Regions from separate parts of the Homo sapiens genome. Here region 1 is linked to region 2. Evidence: promoter capture Hi-C in 16 types of primary human blood cells and fetal thymus (Javierre and others, 2016). All regions are on one chromosome and are shown on one strand. Each heading gives the region's core, a stretch centred on a gene start or on the middle of the fragment in contact. The rest is flanking DNA. Distances are from core to core; before and after follow the strand shown.

What was found. Contacts are between HindIII fragments. The CHiCAGO score rates a contact against its expected background, and 5 or more counts as called.
Region 1: a contact is called between a fragment that was not itself captured here and the fragment with the promoter of LRRC57 in region 2, in 1 of 17 cell types (endothelial precursors). The highest score is 6.0, in endothelial precursors.

Annotation. Positions count from the first base shown.
Region 1 is chr15:42,687,530-42,690,312 of GRCh38, forward strand. It overlaps STARD9 (StAR related lipid transfer domain containing 9), which reads left to right. Exons shown (of 33, transcript NM_020759.3): 23 at 1-2,783. Among named protein-coding and RNA genes, the nearest start is that of CDAN1, 48 kb to the right of the region's middle. The HindIII fragment of the contact is 2,785 bases long and covers 33-2,783 here.
Region 2 is chr15:42,547,415-42,550,231 of GRCh38, forward strand. It overlaps LRRC57 (leucine rich repeat containing 57), which reads right to left and starts at 1,379. Exons shown (of 6, transcript NM_153260.3): 1 at 1,279-1,379; 2 at 937-1,042; 3 at 692-830; 4 at 1-115. The coding sequence starts at 1,020. HAUS2 (HAUS augmin like complex subunit 2) reads left to right here and starts at 1,424. Exons shown (of 6, transcript NM_018097.3): 1 at 1,424-1,551. The coding sequence starts at 1,459. RefSeq lists an enhancer at 1,215-1,684. The HindIII fragment of the contact is 3,855 bases long and covers 1-2,817 here.

The DNA.
Region 1 (2,783 bases), core at 175-2,674, 140 kb after region 2:
TCTTCGTCCCAAAGATAGCTCAGAAGAGTTTAAGCTTCCAGGTACAAAGCCTGCATATGAAAGGTTCCAGTTAGTTGCATGCCCTCAGGAAAGAAACCCCAGTGAATGCAAGTCACAAGAAATGTTAAATCCCAACAGAGAACCTTCTGGAAAGAAACAGAATAAAAGAGTTAATAATACTGATGAAATGGCTAGGCTAATTAGGAGTGTAATGCAGCTGGAAAATGGCATCTTAGAAATTGAATCTAAGCAGAATAAGCAGGTTCATGCTTCCCACACACCAGGAACCGATAAGGAGTTGGTGTTCCAGGACCAGAAGGAGCAGGAGAAGACTGACCATGCCTTTAGGCCAGACAGCTCTGGAAACCCTTTGCCCTCTAAGGATCAGCCATCTTCTCCAAGACAGACAGATGATACTGTCTTTAGGGATAGTGAAGCTGGAGCGATGGAGGTTAACAGCATTGGGAACCATCCCCAGGTCCAGAAAATCACCCCAAACCCCTTCAGGTCAAGGGAAGGTGTACGAGAGAGTGAACCTGTGAGAGAGCACACCCACCCAGCTGGATCGGACAGACCTGCCAGGGATATTTGTGATTCTTTAGGGAAACACACAACTTGCAGAGAGTTCACCAACACTTCTCTTCACCCACAGAGAATGAAAGCATTGGCTAGAGCTCTGCCATTGCAACCCAGGCTAGAGAGGTCTTCTAAGAATAATGGCCAGTTTGTAAAAGCATCAGCAAGTCTCAAAGGGCAGCCTTGGGGCTTAGGAAGTCTTGAGGAATTGGAGACTGTGAAAGGTTTTCAGGAAAGCCAAGTAGCTGAACACGTAAGTAGTTCCAACCAAGAAGAGCCAAAAGCTCAAGGTAAAGTTGAAGAAATGCCTATGCAAAGGGGAGGCAGCCTTCAGGAAGAAAATAAAGTGACTCAGAAATTTCCTAGTCTCAGCCAGCTTTGTAGGGACACGTTTTTCAGGCAGGAAACTGTCAGCCCATTACTAAGCCGGACAGAATTCTGTACAGCTCCTCTTCACCAAGACCTGAGTAATACCTTGCCCTTGAATTCTCCAAGGTGGCCAAGAAGGTGTCTTCATGTACCTGTTGCTCTAGGCATCTCTTCACTTGACTGTGTGCTGGATCTCACAATGTTGAAAATTCATAACAGTCCCTTGGTAACTGGAGTAGAGCATCAGGACCAGAGTACGGAGACCAGAAGCCACAGCCCCGAAGGAAATGTTAGAGGGCGTTCCTCTGAGGCACACACTGCCTGGTGTGGGTCTGTGCGATCCATGGCCATGGGATCTCATAGTCAATCTGGTGTACCAGAGAGCATTCCTCTGGGGACAGAGGACAGGATCTCAGCAAGCACCAGCCCCCAAGACCATGGAAAGGACCTCAGAATCACCTTGCTGGGTTTCAGTACCAGTGAAGATTTTGCTTCTGAAGCCGAGGTGGCTGTACAAAAAGAAATAAGAGTCAGTTCACTGAACAAGGTCTCTAGCCAGCCTGAAAAGAGGGTCAGCTTCTCCTTGGAAGAGGATAGTGACCAAGCCAGCAAGCCAAGGCAGAAGGCAGAGAAGGAGACTGAGGACGTCGGACTGACCAGCGGTGTTTCCTTAGCACCTGTTTCCCTGCCGAGGGTGCCCAGTCCAGAGCCTAGGCTGTTGGAGCCCTCTGACCATGCATCCATGTGCCTGGCCATCTTGGAGGAGATCAGACAGGCAAAGGCCCAGAGAAAGCAGCTTCATGACTTTGTGGCCAGGGGCACAGTCCTTTCTTACTGTGAAACTTTACTAGAACCCGAATGTTCTTCAAGGGTTGCTGGCAGGCCTCAGTGTAAACAAATAGACCAGTCATCATCAGACCAGACCAGGAATGAGGGTGAAGCACCGGGATTTCATGTGGCATCTCTATCTGCTGAAGCAGGGCAGATAGATCTGTTACCTGATGAGAGGAAAGTCCAGGCCACATCTCTGTCTGCAGACAGCTTTGAATCTCTGCCCAATACGGAAACTGACAGAGAGCCATGGGATCCTGTGCAGGCTTTCTCCCATGCTGCTCCTGCTCAAGACAGGAAACGTCGTACTGGAGAACTGAGGCAGTTCGCGGGAGCAAGTGAACCATTTATATGTCACTCTAGTTCTTCTGAAATCATAGAGAAAAAGAAAGATGCAACCAGAACACCTTCCTCAGCTGATCCTTTGGCCCCAGACAGTCCTCGTTCTTCAGCACCTGTGGAGGAGGTCAGGAGGGTAGTATCAAAGAAGGTAGTGGCTGCCTTACCTTCTCAGGCCCCTTATGATGATCCTAGAGTGACTCTGCATGAGCTAAGTCAGTCAGTTCCGCAGGAGACTGCAGAGGGCATACCCCCTGGCAGTCAGGACAGCAGCCCAGAGCATCAGGAACCCAGAACTCTAGACACCACATATGGAGAAGTTTCAGATAATTTGTTAGTGACTGCACAGGGAGAAAAAACAGCCCATTTTGAAAGTCAGTCTGTGACCTGTGATGTTCAGAATTCTACAAGTGCCTCAGGGCCTAAGCAAGACCATGTCCAATGCCCTGAGGCTTCTACTGGCTTTGAAGAAGGTAGGGCAAGTCCCAAACAAGATACCATTCTGCCTGGAGCTCTGACAAGGGTTGCACTGGAAGCTCCCACACAGCAGTGTGTGCAGTGTAAGGAGAGTGTTGGGTCTGGGTTGACAGAAGTCTGCAGGGCTGGCAGCAAACATTCCAGGCCAATTCCACTGCCAGATCAAAGACCAAGCGCAAATCCTGGGGGAA
Region 2 (2,817 bases), core at 129-2,628:
AGGGTCTTGAGGGCAGAGAGTTGCCCAAAGGTAGACGGCAGCTCTCTAAGGTGATTGTTGTTTAGGCTTAGCGTCTCTAGTTTTTTCAGATTGCATATCTCATCAGGCAGAACAGCTGGCAAAGAAAAATTTTTTTAAAACCTGAATGTGATAGAGCTGAAAACAACTTTGATGAAGTTTATAAAGACTATATGGCAGCCTGCTTCGCCTCTTGTTAATATATGTAAAACTCCCACATGTGCCATTTTTAGATATTGCATTTTACCAACATAGTCTTTAGAAGGTGAGGGTGCCATCAAAATGCCGGAGAGCATTTGTGTGTATAATGGGCTCCTTTTGTAAAGGGGCCCAAGGCACAATCCGACAGCAATTTTGTGATATTTGGAAGATCCTCCCCTTCTCATCCATCCCCCATTCCAAGTTAGGTAGCTTTGTTTACATTACATCCCCAAAATGTTCTTCTCTTTCAAGTCCAAATTAACCCAGTAACAATCATTATAACACCCAATCATTATAAGGCTTATTTTAGATGTAATTACAAGAAGTAGAAAGAAGGCTTCAAGGATTCCGGCATTCGCAACTTGAGCCCTCCTGCACGGTTTCATAACAAAAACAAAAATCAGCTTGTAAGAGAAAACCACCCCTGGTAACAGCTGATCACTAGCAAAAGCCTCCCTGGCGAGAGCCATACTCAGTTTGTTGTTGTTCAGGGAGAGGCTCTTCAGCAGAGTGAACTTTCCTATCAGCAAAGGCGGTAGGCTTTCGATCTTGTTGTTGGACAAGTCGATGGTCCTGAGATTGCTCGTCAGCTTCTGCAAGTCTGCGGGGAACTGGAGAAAGGAGTTCACAGCGTGGGGAATCCCGCACCGACTAAGTTCGCCGCCCCCGCCGTCCCTCTCCCTTTAAGTTCCCTGGTCGTGTCCCTCCCAGTCTCACCTCGGTCAGCCCTCGGTCCTTAAGCTGAAAGACACCAGTTTTCTGCGCCGTTTCCACATGAGCGCGGAGCGCACTGTTTCCCATCCTAGCGCCGCGGCTCAGGTCCCTGCGGGAAGGAAGCGCTGCTGTCACCGCCCAGTCCACCCGGTCGGCCTCCCGGCTGGGGCTCCTGCCCCAGCTCTCAACTCCCGCCGATCCCTGGCTCCTGGGGCCCGACCCAAGAGCGACAAGGAAGAAACGGAAGAACACACAGCCCGACCACCAAGCCCTGCCGCCTTTGCAGCTCTGCGGAGGCCAGGCGCCTCTGGGAGCCTACGGAAGATCAGGGAGCCCCGGACTCGCCTCCCACCGCTCAGCTGCCGTAAGGCTCCGCAGGTGAAGACCCAGGACCCGCAGTAGCCGGGATGCGCTCCCCGGCTTAGTCCCGGGCGGGAACGCCCTGTGACGTCATCGAGCCGCGCCGTGCGTTCGCCCTGCGATCCCGCTCACTCTTGGCGCCTTCGCGGAAGGTGCGTCCGAGCCATGGCCGCTGCCAACCCGTGGGACCCGGCGTCCGCGCCTAACGGCGCTGGGCTAGTGCTAGGCCACTTCATAGCTTCGGGGATGGTCAATCAGGTACGTGGGGGTGGCGGTGGTGTCATCAAGGGGGTGCCCAAGGTGGCAACAATATGGCTGTGAGTTGGTGCTGCTGGCTGTGGGAGTGGTGAGGGTCCTGGTTGGGGTCTGTACTAGAGTAATAAGAGCCCCTTCCAGGCAACAGCCGCGAACGTTCTGCCGTGGATGCTTGGAAAGCGGGGATCTGAGTAGATGGTGTTTAGGGTAGACTGTGTTTTGAGTGTCTGTAGGGTAAATTTGTCCCAGTCCAGTTTGTGGGAGATTAGACTGTTACCAGCCTTTTTTTCATCCAGTGATACTGCCTCTAGACTGTAGTGTAAGGGCGGGGATGGGAAATACGGGTCGTTCTGTCCCCTTGCGGAACAAGCATTTCCAACAACCCTCGTTTGTGGGAAGTGTTGAATCGTATTTGGGGCGGGAGGTGCTGGGTAGAGAAGAGCGCCAGAAGCTCTTTTTTGACATTTTTATTTTATTTTATTATTTATTTATTTATTTATATGAGACAGAGTCTCGCTCTAACGCCCAGGCTGGAGTGCAGTGGCGTGGTCTCGGCTCACTGCAACCTCCGCCTTCCTGGTTCAAGCGATTCTCCTGCCTCAGCCTCTGGAGTAGCTGGGACTACAGGCGCCCACCACCACACCCAGCTAATTTTTTTTTGTATGTTTAGTAGAGACGGGGTTTCACCTTGTAAGCCAGGATGGTCCCGATCTCCTGACCTCGTGATCCACCCGCCTCGGCCTCCCAAAGTGCTGGGATTACAGGCGTGAGCCACCGCGCCCGGCCTTGGCATCTTTAAAGGCAAAAAAAAAAAAAAAAAAAAAAAAGTATTGGCTAAAAAGATAAGACCTTGGAACGTGAATGGAGGAAGAGATTAATTTTGAGAAGGAGAGAAAAGAGACATTAACCCAAGGAGTCACGGAGTGGCAGTTTTAGGTTGGGCAAGAGGAGCATGTCGGAGGAAGGAGCCAACAGAGGGAGAAATTGAACATGTGAGGAAATAATGGAATGCAGTGACAGGAGGGCATGGGGCAAGTGGGATCAAGGGCATTGAGAAAAATGGGGAAATAAATTTTGATATATAGAGGAAGTTGAGAAATTTCACTAAAAAGAAAACAGAAAAGTTAAACTGATCTGTAAAAATCAGCACATATTAGCCGGCATGGTGGCGTACACCTGTAGTCCCAACTACTCCGCGGACCACATGGGTCCTGGAGGCTCAGATGGGAAGATGGCTTGAGCTTAAGAGATGGAGGTTGCAGTGAGATG